Regions from separate parts of the Homo sapiens genome. Here regions 2 and 3 are each linked to region 1. Evidence: promoter capture Hi-C in 16 types of primary human blood cells and fetal thymus (Javierre and others, 2016). All regions are on one chromosome and are shown on one strand. Each heading gives the region's core, a stretch centred on a gene start or on the middle of the fragment in contact. The rest is flanking DNA. Distances are from core to core; before and after follow the strand shown.

Evidence for each region. Contacts are between HindIII fragments. The CHiCAGO score rates a contact against its expected background, and 5 or more counts as called.
Region 2: the fragment with the promoter of CEP290 here is called in contact with the fragment with the promoter of CAPRIN2 in region 1 in 1 of 17 cell types (non-activated CD4 T cells); the score reaches 7.0 in non-activated CD4 T cells.
Region 3: a fragment that was not itself captured here is called in contact with the fragment with the promoter of CAPRIN2 in region 1 in 1 of 17 cell types (non-activated CD4 T cells); the score reaches 6.7 in non-activated CD4 T cells.

The regions. Positions count from the first base shown.
Region 1 is chr12:30,752,746-30,756,847 of GRCh38, reverse strand. It overlaps CAPRIN2 (caprin family member 2), which reads left to right and starts at 1,897. Exons shown (of 19, transcript NM_001385503.1): 1 at 1,897-2,097; 2 at 3,289-3,504. The coding sequence starts at 3,328. It overlaps LOC645485 (a long non-coding RNA gene), which reads right to left and starts at 1,774. Exons shown (of 2, transcript NR_135046.1): 1 at 1,577-1,774. RefSeq lists silencers at 369-572, 1,664-2,343 and enhancers at 2,271-2,440, 2,444-2,523. The HindIII fragment of the contact is 2,894 bases long and covers 1-2,880 here.
Region 2 is chr12:88,140,838-88,144,939 of GRCh38, reverse strand. CEP290 (centrosomal protein 290) reads left to right here and starts at 2,852. Exons shown (of 54, transcript NM_025114.4): 1 at 2,852-3,040; 2 at 3,606-3,734; 3 at 3,907-3,984. The coding sequence starts at 3,633. It overlaps TMTC3 (transmembrane O-mannosyltransferase targeting cadherins 3), which reads right to left and starts at 2,633. Exons shown (of 14, transcript NM_181783.4): 1 at 2,453-2,633. RefSeq lists enhancers at 2,263-2,766, 2,573-3,012. The HindIII fragment of the contact is 8,380 bases long and covers 2,390-4,102 here.
Region 3 is chr12:69,741,116-69,745,217 of GRCh38, reverse strand. The region is part of intron 1 of RAB3IP (RAB3A interacting protein); the gene reads right to left. Among named protein-coding and RNA genes, the nearest start is that of RAB3IP, 4.3 kb to the right of the region's middle. The HindIII fragment of the contact is 1,122 bases long and covers 1,270-2,391 here.

The DNA of each region.
Region 1 (4,102 bases), core at 648-3,147:
CTTTTTAACTTGTTCAGAAGACATTGCTTCAAGAGTATCTACTGTGGTATGTTCTCCTACAAATGTCACGCCATACGTATACAGACTGTACCCTACTGGACTTGAAATTCAATTATTTTTGCTTTTGCATTCTTTCGTGATGCATTTTTATAATCCTTCCTGAGAAGTAAATCTGTATGGATTTATTCATTTAGAAGAATATCCATTTAGTAGAAAATTTAAAATTTACGGCCTCCTTTTTGCCTGACCGATTAGAAGGCAAACATTTCTTTCTTTCTTTCTTTTTTTGAGATAGAGTCTTGCTCTGTCACCCAGGCTGGAGTGCAGCGGCACAATCTCGGCTCACTGCAGCGTCCGTCTCCGGGTTTCAAGCGATTCTCCTGCCTTAGCCTCTGAGTAGCCATGATTACAGGCACATGCCGCCATGCTCGGCTAATTTTTGTATTTTTAGTAGAGATGGATATTCACCACGCTGGCCAGCCTGGCCTCGAACTCCCGACCTCAGGTGATCCACCCCGCCTCGGCCTCCCAAAGTGCTGGGATCACAGGCTTGAGCCACTGCGCCGGCAGGGGGCAAACATTTCATGATTAATCTGACTGAAATACCATTTTTAGGTTCATCATTAGCTCGGACTACAACTCAGGCTGTGCTGTAACTTTGTGTCAACTCATTGATCCAACAGTGTGTCCTTCACATTTTTTCTTATGGCCACTGTTTTTTGTGTTACCAAAGGTGAAGGCATAGCCTTCCTCTCCTCATGTTCAGCATCTTCTGCGTTTCTCTGTTTATAAACAATGAGAAAAAGGGAAAATCTAGTATTTCTCTGACCCTGAAGAACACATATGGGATTCAGAGATTCAAAGTTAAAATGCAACATTAGGGTACATTATGTCACCAGGGACCGAAAAGAACACGGATAATAGATGCCAAAAAAATGTATTAAGTAATGTTAAAATTAATTTGTGTGAAGTTGACCAAGGCTTTTAAAACTAGACCTTTGTTTCCTTGATTCTTCTTCTGAATTTTCTGTTCTTTTGCTAGTCTCAATATTTTTTATCAGAGCGTCAGGGACAATCAGGACCTAAAAAACTCCACTTGGTGTAATAAGTAAACACATGTTGGGGCAAAGTATTGCTGAGTGTGTGTGTGTGTTTCTTATTTGGTATCAGAAACACCTTCCTTTCCTCAATAAACTTTTACATATTTCCAGACTTTTCTCTTAATTTTATGTAACCTTACAAAGATTTTTTACAGCTTTCTCTGCGTGCCAGTCAATTAATGTGTGTCACATGAACAAATAATACGGCTTGAATAAACTCAATCCTATTATTGCAGGTTGCGAAGTCACCTACTCCGTTTTTATGGCGATGCTGATTTGGGGCATTCTGCTCTTACAGGCTGATTCCCCGGTAAGGAAACGGTGTTTTTTCCCCATCCTACTATGAAAGATGCTATCTGAGGGGCAAAGGCGCATCTGCATTTCACGACTACCCACTAGGCTACGACAGCCTCAAGCATGGCTTATCTGGTAGTTCCGCGAAGGGCTCGCTGCCCTCCTGGAGCTATTGGAGTCACCTGTTCAAGGTCGCGAAACCACCGGTGCCGCCGGCAATCAGCGAGGTCCAGCGGGGCTGCGCGGTTTCCGGCCTGCCGGCGTTCGGCGTCGCCTCGGCCCCACCTGGTGCCCCGCAATCTGCGCAAAGGCTGGGAGACCGCGCCCTCTCCCGACCTACCACCAGCCCAAGCTGGGCCCGGAACTAACACCCGACAAGCGCTGGCGGCCAGCTGCAGCCGGGAAGGAGCACCGGAAGGAGGCGGTGGCGGGGCGGCCGAGGGCGGAGCGGGCCGGGGCGGGGCGCGGCCTACAAAAGCCACGCGCGGCGCGGTGGGCGGGCCTGGGCGCGAGCGGCTGAGTCGGCTGGGTCTCTGGCGCCGCAGAGGCCGCGGGCGAGGACCGGGAGGGGAGAGGGAGGAGACAGGAGGAGGAGACGCGAGTGCGGGGTGGCGCCGGTCCACCTCCGCAGCGCTCCTGCCTCCCCCAGGCTTTGGAAGGCGGGCCCGGGCTGCGGCAGCGGCGGCCTCGGCTGCCTGGGGAGGTGAAGTCGGGCTGCGGCGGCCTCGGTCGGCGCGGCGGAGGGAGGCGGCTGACCCGGCGAGGGTGGGCAGGTCTGGGCGGCCGGCGCCGCTGCGAGGTGGAGGGGCGGCTTGGCATCCCCGGGGCGGGGCGGGGCTCCCGAGGGCCGCGGTCGGTGCGTTTTCCGCAGGTCAGCCTCCCCCGGGGCCTTGCAGAAGCGGCTTCTGCGTACCCGGGGCGGCTGTGGGAAGGGTGGGGGTCGGTGCCTGCAGGGCTCTCCGTGGCCGCTCGGGAGAGGTGCTCTTCGCTCAGGCTCCCCCGGAGACTTGAGGGGGTGCGCGCTGGCGTGCATGGGGCCTGTTCTGTCCTTGGTTTGGGGATGCTCCTAAGGGGGGAGAAAGGGATACCTCGGGTGCTTGGAGGTCGAGAGACGGATACGTAAGTGCGCAAGGGCCACTGATTAGGGCACGGGAAGGGCTCGCTAGAATGAGCTCTTAAACTGGTTGGGTGTAAGCGGTTTTGGGCTAGTCTAAACCAAACAACTGAGAATAAACGCGGGGTTCCTGCAGGTTGAGAGAGTACCTGTCTGCAAATGTCCAGTAGTGATGGATTGCCTTGTAGGCCCCAGAGCAATCGGGGAAGTTAGCATTCTTGTTCAAGAAGCTGCTGGTTCACTTAGAGCTATAAAAGAATGTTGTGAGTTTGGATTTTCTTCCAAACGTTCAGGATTGAGGTTAGGGCTGGTGGTGAGGGATCATGTAAAGAGGTTTGAGTGGCTCAGCCTTAGGTCCCGGTGTGGAAAGCTTATTCTTTTGGTGTCATCACGTGGCCATGGGAATTATTTAGAATGTGATCTGCCCTCATGAGAAGAAAGGAGCTCTGAAGCCGTTGCAGTTCTTCCTCCCTATGTGGAAAATCGAATTTCTGGAAACATCCTCCGTATTGGGAGATTTTGCCTATGTAAAGGCTATCCTTATTGGCTAGCGGCACTAATTACTTTAAAAGTAGGATGGAAGTACAAGTATCTCAAGCATCATTGGGTTTCGAGCTCACTTCTGTGGAAAAGAGTTTAAGGGAGTGGTCTAGACTTTCCAGGGAAGTTATTGCCTGGCTGTGTCCCTCTAGTCCTAATTTTATACTTAACTTTCCCCCACCTCCTTCAGCCTCATCTGTTTCAATGGTGCAACTCTTTTCATCCCCTTTTGGTTACCAGTCACCTTCAGGCCATTCAGAGGAGGAAAGAGAGGGGAATATGAAGTCAGCCAAGCCCCAAGTGAACCACAGTCAGCATGGGGAAAGCCAGCGGGCCTTGAGCCCCCTGCAGTCTACTCTGAGTTCTGCTGCATCTCCTTCCCAAGCGTATGAGACCTATATTGAAAATGGACTCATATGCCTTAAACACAAAATTAGAAACATCGAGAAAAAGAAGGTAACTTTTTTTCTTCCAGTCCTGTAGATGCATGATCTTAAAGATTAAGGAGCTGACATTTTTCTTTCAGAGCTCATAGGTGTTCTCTACTAAAAATTTAACTAACCTTAGGTTTAGCTGCTTTAAACAAGCAGGTTACGTGTTGGAAATATTAAACATTTTCTGTTTCATTTGTCAAAACAACGGAATAAAAATATTCTTCATAGTTACATTATGCATGCTGCTGTTGAAATACTTTAAGAGCTAGCTATTTTAGGTGAGATTAATTCCTTATGTAGTATTAATGTTTCTTTTCATAGATGTGTTAATAGCTGATTTTTTAGCTTGTTTTCCTTGTGACTTTCTGCAGCAGTTGATATTGCAGTATAACTGCTGCAGTCGTTGGAAGGTTTAACCGTAGTAGAACTAGAAAATGTTTTACCACTTACTTTTGTGGTGTTAGGTGAAGATTTAAGATTGCTAGGTGAAAGCGTGGTAGTCAGCCTTGTAAAGAGACCCAGGAGTTAAGCCTAGCTACAGAAAATGCTGTTGTAAAGATCTAAATCCTTCTTCATTTCCTGAGTCATGTAGCCTGTGAAACAGACTGCACGTTGCTTTG
Region 2 (4,102 bases), core at 1,603-4,102, about 57 Mb before region 1:
CACATAAGTCCCATTTCTTGATGAAAACTGACAGGTGCAGAAAATCTGACGAAAAATAATAGTTTTGCCAATTTTCCTCAAAAATATACAGTGAGTTATTGAACTAGAACCTGAGTTAAATTTCCTGACTCACACTTAGGTACAGACGACAATGCATAAAAACTTAGTTGACTTGTTCAAGCCAGAGCTGACTTGTTCACTGCTGTATCCCCAGTGCCTAGCACAGGAAACAGGATAAAAAATACTGTTAGAATGAGTTAAAGAATAAAATTTAGGTAAGATTTTGCTTTTAGTTACAATTGTCACTGAGATCTAGGTTACAATCTTAGCTTCATCAATTATTACTTAACTTCTATGAACTTGTTCTCACTTCTGAAAAATTAGAATAAAATTTACCATTAGAGACCAGGCACCTTGAGTTTATGAATGTGAGCAAGAGGGTGGTGGCAGAAGGGTAGAAAAGAGTAATACAGACAAACGAAACTTGTAAGTGAATACATAAAAATAAGTTATAACGAATGAAAAAAAAAACAGAAGAAAAGGTGTTAGAGAAAACAGACTTCTATTATGAAAACAAACACGCAGTAGTCAGCATAGTGTATGACATAACATGTGCTCAGTAACTATTAAATTTCATTCCTACCATTGTCAGAGGTATTTGAATCACAACAACTCCATCTTGAATAGGGGCTGGGTAAAATAAGGGTGAGACCTACTGGGCTGCATTCTCAGGATGTCTGTCAGTCATTCTAAGTCACAGGATGAGATAGGAGGTGGGCACAAGATACTGATCATAAAGACTTTGCTGATAAAACAGCATGCAGTAAAGAAGCCAGCCAAATCCCACCAAATCCAAGATGGCGAGAAAGGTGGGACGTCTGCTCGTTCTCACTGCTCATTATACACTAATTATAATGCATTAGCATCCTAAAAGACACTCCCACCAGTGCTATGACAGTTTACAGATGCCATGGCAATGTGAAGAAGTTACTCTATATAGTCTAAAAAGGGGAGGAACACTCAGATCTAGGAATGGCCTACCCTCTTCCCAGAAAACTCATGAATAACCCACCCCTTGTTTAGCATATAATCAAGAAATAACTATAACAATCCTTAGTCTACCACCTCCAATGGGGGTGTATGCACCTCCAATTCTTTCTTGGCGAGATCCAGGAGCCCTCTCCTGGGGTCCAGATCAGAACACCTTTCCAGAAACACCATCCCATGTTAAATTATGAATTAAGAACACTGAACATGAAGAATGTTTAATTCAAATTATTGAGTAAACACTTACAAAATTAAAATATAACATTTAATAAAAATAGCAAGATTGAGGAACAAGCACTTCACAAATATTGGTTTCCCAGAATGTCTGAGGAGGTGTATAGAAGTTAAGAATATGTCCTCCAGCCAGAGAGATCTGTGTTCAATCACACTATTTAAGTTACTTAGCTTCTCCAAGCCTCAGTTTCTTAACTCAGATGGAAAATGAGGACAATGTAAGCACCTATTTCACTGGATTGTAAGGAAGAATAAACAAGATAATGAATAGTATTTGGCATATAATCTTTCAGAAAAGTAGTAAAATTGTCATTCCTATAAATCTAACTAATGTCTTTAAAATTCATCTCACAAAATCAGTATCTTTTTATTTTGTACTGAGCTACTTATTTTACCCAAATTGGGGGTTTAAAAAGAAACTCATTACTTATTTTCGAAAGGAAAATTTACTGTCAAGTACAGTAATTTTTTTTTTAAAGCAGCGTTTAAAAAAAAAAAAAGACAAAGCACTGGTCCAGATAGTTGGAAATGTCATTTAGATTTAAGTCTACAGCTTCTTAGGAAAGTTAGGTAGAGATGTATCATACTCCAGCATGATTGTGAGCAGACGAGCAGGATGAGCAAAACTTGCACGAGTAAGAGTGGTAAACACCAGAGAAGGCGCTTTCATGGAAGGGCACCCTAGGTAACCAAGCAAGTGGCAACAATAGTACAGGTGAGTCCTTGGATCCCTTCTCTCTCCACCCCCGGCAGTGGTCCGGACAAGTACTAACCTCTCCTCTCTAGAGCCTTGACTTTATACTAGCTCCACAACCATCAAGCCCCACGATCCGCGAAAGGAATGGTGCTACAGGTAAGGCGGGCGGGGTCGGGATGCCGAGACCTCTTGTCAATTCTTCGCTCGCCCCCAAACGAGGATCACGGCTGCGCGGCTCTCACTCTAACTATCAAGACAGATTCTGATACTAAACAAGGCTAAAACTTTTTGTTTTTTCCTTCTTACAGAAGGCACTACCCTGGACGCCGCTTGCAAACGCCTGAAGAGAAGGCAGGGTGTTCCCACTTTTTCAGAATGGGACCAGGCCCTACGGCCCCAATAGCAGAAGCTTCTCTAACCCAGGACTGCTCCCCTCAATTCCTCCCAATATGCTGACCGACAGCTCGACCTCACCTGGGGGCGGTTCCGCCAGGGGATGGCTTAGGAAAACCTCAGGAAGAGCAGCCCAGCGAGTGACGCCACTGAAACCACAGTCATGGTCTACCTCGTTCAGGCCACCAGTTTGCAGGCGCCTGAGCCGCTGCTCCTCCCGCCTCTCGGTCCTTCCCCGCCGCCCCGGTACCGTCGCAGTCTTACGCGTTGCATGCCGGGAGCGCCTTACCTCCTCTTCTCAGGGACTTCAGTTCCCAGCATGCAGAAGCCTCAGGCAGAACTGCACTCTGGGATTTGAAGTCCTCGTTCCACGCCTTCTCATCATCCTGAACACCGAGCTCTGGGACTCCGGCGGAGAATCTAAACGTAAAGCATCACCCACGGTCGTGAACTGTAGGCTCTCCTGGCATCCGGGATCTTATTCTGGCCTTGGCGGAGTTGGGGATGGTGTCGCCTAGCAGCCGCTGCCGCTTTGGCTTGCTCGGGACCATTTGGCTGGACCCAGAGTCCGCGTGGAACCGCGATAGGGATCTGTCAGGGCCCGCGGCCGGGTCCAGCTTGGTGGTTGCGGTAGTGAGAGGCCTCCGCTGGTTGCCAGGCTTGGTCTAGGTGGGTGGATCCTTGTAAGCAGGATTAGCGAGTCACTCCACGCTCAGGTTCTTTAGCCTGAGGGCCCGTGTGCCACAGCATAGCTACCCCGCCCTTCCAGCCTCGGGTCCCTAATACTGCCTTGCTTCGGTTCCAGTTTCCGCCGCACAACTTCACTCATTCCAAATGTTAATTTCTGCGTTTTTTTTCAGCCCCAATTCTGTTTCTCCAAATCAGGGATGATTGTCGGCCTTCCACAGACCCTCGCGCTTGCCAGGATTAGGGTGTTCGCGCGCATTGTGGGTAGGGGTGTGGAGGAAGGGATCCAGAAATCTTAAGTATTAACTTAGATTAGTGTTAGCAAGGAAGCCGTCACATTTTATTTAGCCGGGACACTCTGACAGTTTGTGCCGACTGCTATTTTTGATCAAGGCTATTTTGCCCACTTGTCTATTTTGTGGCCCAATTGTCTGTTTTGCTAACATCAGAAAGTTATAATGAAATAATCTGCAAAAAATGTAAGGTGCTAGAAAACCAATAATACTGTGTACCTTGAAAATGCTAATATACACCTGTTTTGTTACAGAGGTGGAGCACAGTGAAAGAATTCAAGATGCCACCTAATATAAACTGGAAAGAAATAATGAAAGTTGACCCAGATGACCTGCCCCGTCAAGAAGAACTGGCAGATAATTTATTGATTTCCTTATCCAAGGTGCTTAATTGGTCAATAATAATAGATATATACATTAACTTATGATTAATTTATTAATAAAATATGAATTTATTTTTTTCAGGGACAACTATAATTGTCACAATCTGGAAGTGTTCTTATATTTTGCTTGAAGGTTATAAAATATAAAACAGTTGCTTTTCTGTTTACTTAGGTGGAAGTAAATGAGCTAAAAAGTGAAAAGCAAGAAAATGTGATACACCTTTTCAGAATTACTCAGTCACTAATGAAGGTTTGTATGTAGTAGGTTTTAACTATAGGTTTGGCTATTAGTGGAACTATAAAAATCTGTTCTTATATAAGGTAATCTTTGTGAAAATACCTGGTAATATCTACATCACCACTAAAAA
Region 3 (4,102 bases), core at 581-3,080, about 39 Mb before region 1:
GGAAATACTGAAATACCTACAGGTGAAATTACACAGGACTTGCAATTTGTTTCAAAATAATATAGAAGTGGGAGAAGTGGATGGATGAGGACTGATCACTGTTGATAGTTACTGGGCTACATGATGGAAACTTTTAGGTTCATTATACTATTGTGTCTACTTACCTTATTTGAAACTCTCCATAATTTATAGTGCTCTCAAAATAAAAAGGAAAGTTCAAAATTTATTCAAATACTGTATAATAAAGGAGGAAAAAACAAAACAAGTATATATATAAAATCATTTTTTCATTAGCTTTCATAATAATTTTAAAGTTGGCTTCCCAAACTAGCATTTTAGTTATGACAAAAAAAATCACATTTATCTTTTAAGAAGCATTCTATGTTTATAAATGCAAATGTAATTAATAGCCCAAGGGCAAAATTACTCAAATGGTCAATCAGGCTACACAATTTTCCCATTTTTATTATAATAGATCACAAATGAATTCCCACTAATTCCACAATACTTTTTTTTTTTTTTTTTTGAGATGCAGTCTCGCTCTGTCGCCCAGGCTGGAGTGCAGTGGCACAATCTCGGCTCACTGCAACATCTGTCTCCTGAATAGCTGGGATTACAGGCGCCTGCCACCACACCCAGCTAATTTTTTGTATTTTTAGTAGAGATGGGGTTTTGCCATGTTGACCAGGCTTGTCTCGAACTCCTGACCTCAAGTAACTGTCTGCCTCAACCTCCCAAGTGCTGGGACTACAGGTGTGAGCCACCATGCCCGGCCTAATTCCACAACACTTCAATGTACAACCTGACATGTGTAGAGATGTTAGTTATTGCAGTGTGTTATGTTGACAGTTTTCAGAAAATGTTCTGAACTTATGAGCTAATATTATATTTAATTACAAATAATTATTTGTAATAATACAATGAGCTAATATTTAATTACAAATATTTATTTGTAATTAAATATTTATTTAAATTAACAGAACACCGCATGTTCTCACTCATAAGTGGGAGATGAACAATGAGAACACACGGACACAGGGAGGGGAATATCACACACCAGGGCCTGTGGGGGAGTGGCGGGCTAGGGGAGGGATAGCATTAGGAGAAATACCTAAGGTAGATGATGGGTTGACCGGTGCAGCAAACCACCATGGCACGTGTATACCTATGTAACAAACCTGCACATTCTGCACATGTATCCCAGAACTTAAAAGTATAATTTTTTAAAAAAATCATTTTCCAAATTTCTTTTTCTCAATAATGGAAGCTTCATTTTACATATTCTCTTAAGAATATATGCCAACTAAACATTCAACAGGTGCTGAAATACGCACTGACTAAATAAATAAACAAGAGTCTTTAGAGAAGGAATGAATAGCAAAGCGGTAAAGAGTGGAGACAGTTATTCAGGCTACATTTTTGCTGAAAAAGATAGAAATGAAACAGTAAATACTTTGCGAGAGTATCAAAACTGGAGAAATTGAAGTTTGAGAAAACCTGAGCATTTTAACAGACTAACTTCAGAAAACCTTCCTTCTAGTTCAGATTCTGTCACTGACAAGCTGTGTGAACTGACGCAAGTCATTTAATCTCTCTAAGGTTCAGTTTTGACATCTATAATGGTAGTGATATTATCTCCCCTGCCTACATTTGAGAAAATCAAATGGCATATCAATGTAAAAATGTATACATTGTAAAGCACAACATAAATGTATGATTTTATAAAGATCTAAGAAAGAAAAAAATGTAATGGGGGAAATAGCAAAAGCATACTGAGGGGTTTGTCTTACAAATCAGAAGGTATCTTTATTTATCTTAGGTAAAAGGAAAGAAAGGGAAAACTAGTCTTTATGAGGCATGTAGTTCAAATATGATTCTTTTCCCCACAGGGAATTGATACAAATTTGCTTATTGTTTTTTCAAACTTATTTTGGTTTTTCTTTTATACTTTATCCTTATCTGACAACCAGATGCTCCCAAACAAATATTCAATACTATTACTTTTATCTGGGCATATCAAATTACAATTCACTTATTTAAGTGGTTCTAAGCTATCATCTATATGCTCCTTTATGCTCATAGGGCATTCTCACATTCTTGAATAGTTTCTTCATACTAAGCTGTCAATTCATATACTTATTTGTGTATGTATCCATACCCCTCAGAGGAATTTCATCAACTGCCATTATGATTATATTTACAATCCTACTGTTAACGACAAGCATCAAATCTTTCATGAACTTGAACTATTTGAATAATTTTCATTCTTTTTCCTCTAAGTAATATCAGTTTACGGCTATAGTTATCTAATTTCGTGTTGCCCTATATTCTAAGATAAATCAGATTACTTTTTCCACTTTTCTCTAACCATGACTATGTACGATGTAAGCTTATAAAACTACCTCATTTAGTGGTAAGTTGAAAAGGAAAGCAGAAGGGAAAATAGAGATAGCAAGTTAATGCTCCCAGTTGTATAAATATCTTCCTCTTCCTTCCTTTGTCCCTTCATTTCTCAATGTTCATTTCAATTTCTACTGCTAGAGCAGCTTCAAAACATCCTAACATTCTTCAACTGATCATCCATCACCAAACACAGCACAGTACTTACCTGGCCCGATGTTAAAGCTATAAAATGAGGTAAGCCCTACTCTCGAAGCACTTGTAGACTAGAGGAAGAGACCACCTTGCCAATAAACATGTTTCTAGGGCCCTAGAAACAATTACAAATACAACACAAATATCAAAGTTCATAAATACCAAAAAAGAGGTACTCAGTATTATAAAAGCATAAAATTTTTAAAAAGAGTACCATCTGGTACAACTAAGGATAGTAGCATAAAAAAGGAGAAACAAGCTAGAAAGCAGTTTACAAAAGCTCAGATATTTTGTTTTTAGGATATCAAATGCGTAGTAACCAATTTACTATCCTTTGATGAACTGCATCTTAATCAGAATTATATCGGAAAAAAGTTTAGTGTGAAAAAGCGTACTCCCTTGGAATATCTTCAAAGCTTTCCCTCATTACCTCAATGCACAAATATCTCTACCCACTATCCATCTGTCCTTCCTCTCCACTACTCAACTATCCTAGCACTTTGTCTTAGTTGACATTCATTAAAATATGTAAAGTGCGTTCTACATTTTGAAGAACTTATAAAAGATATGGGAATGATTATAAGGCCCTACCTTCCATATTCCTTAAGAACAGTTTCCTTTAACCCCTACTGTGACTTGCAGAGTAGATGCTCAATGAGTATTTGATTTAAAAAAATCTCTGGTGACACAATGAGAATTACATATTACATTAACATTACGTATCTCATAAAAGCTAAATTACAAAGTTCTTCAGCATTATAAGCTACACATAAAGAAGTGATAATGTAGTGATTATGAGCAAACAATTCTTTAGCATTACCACTTATACATGAAGAAATGACAGAGTGTAGTGGTTAAGAGCACAGACATGGAAGACAAACTGTCTGACATCTAATCTAGACCTGTCACTTAATTAACTATGTGACGTTGAGCAAACTACATAAGGTCTCAGGGTCTCAATTTTCTCAACTACAAAATAGGGATAAAGTATTATCTCCTCGCTCACTCTGAGAGTAAATGAGTATAAAGCTTACACCAGGACTTCGCTTGATAAGCACTAGACTTAAAAGTAACTGTAGTAGCAATGCTGGTATCACCGTCTTCAGAAAACTTGGATATTTTTAAACCAGAAATACAAATGGTAACACTTGTCATCTGTGTGCCTCCTTATAGTTACAAAGCTCTTTAATAGAAGGTGCAGACCAGGAATGTAAGAAACAAAAGCACTACGTTCCATTTTGGGCAGTCGGATACAGTTTTTAATACCGGCTCTGTCACTGGCCAGCTGTACGACCACCTACAACTAAGTAACCATAGACAAATTATCGCAACTTTCTAAGCCTCCATTTCCTGACTTGTAAAATTTGATAAACCACCTATATCCCGGGAATGTCCAGAGGACTGAGGAGTCAAGGTATCGAAAACAAGCACACACAGTGCCTTGCACACAATCAAGCTCACACTGGTTCCTTCTCCCCTTCCCCACATCTCTAATGGAGTATGTTAT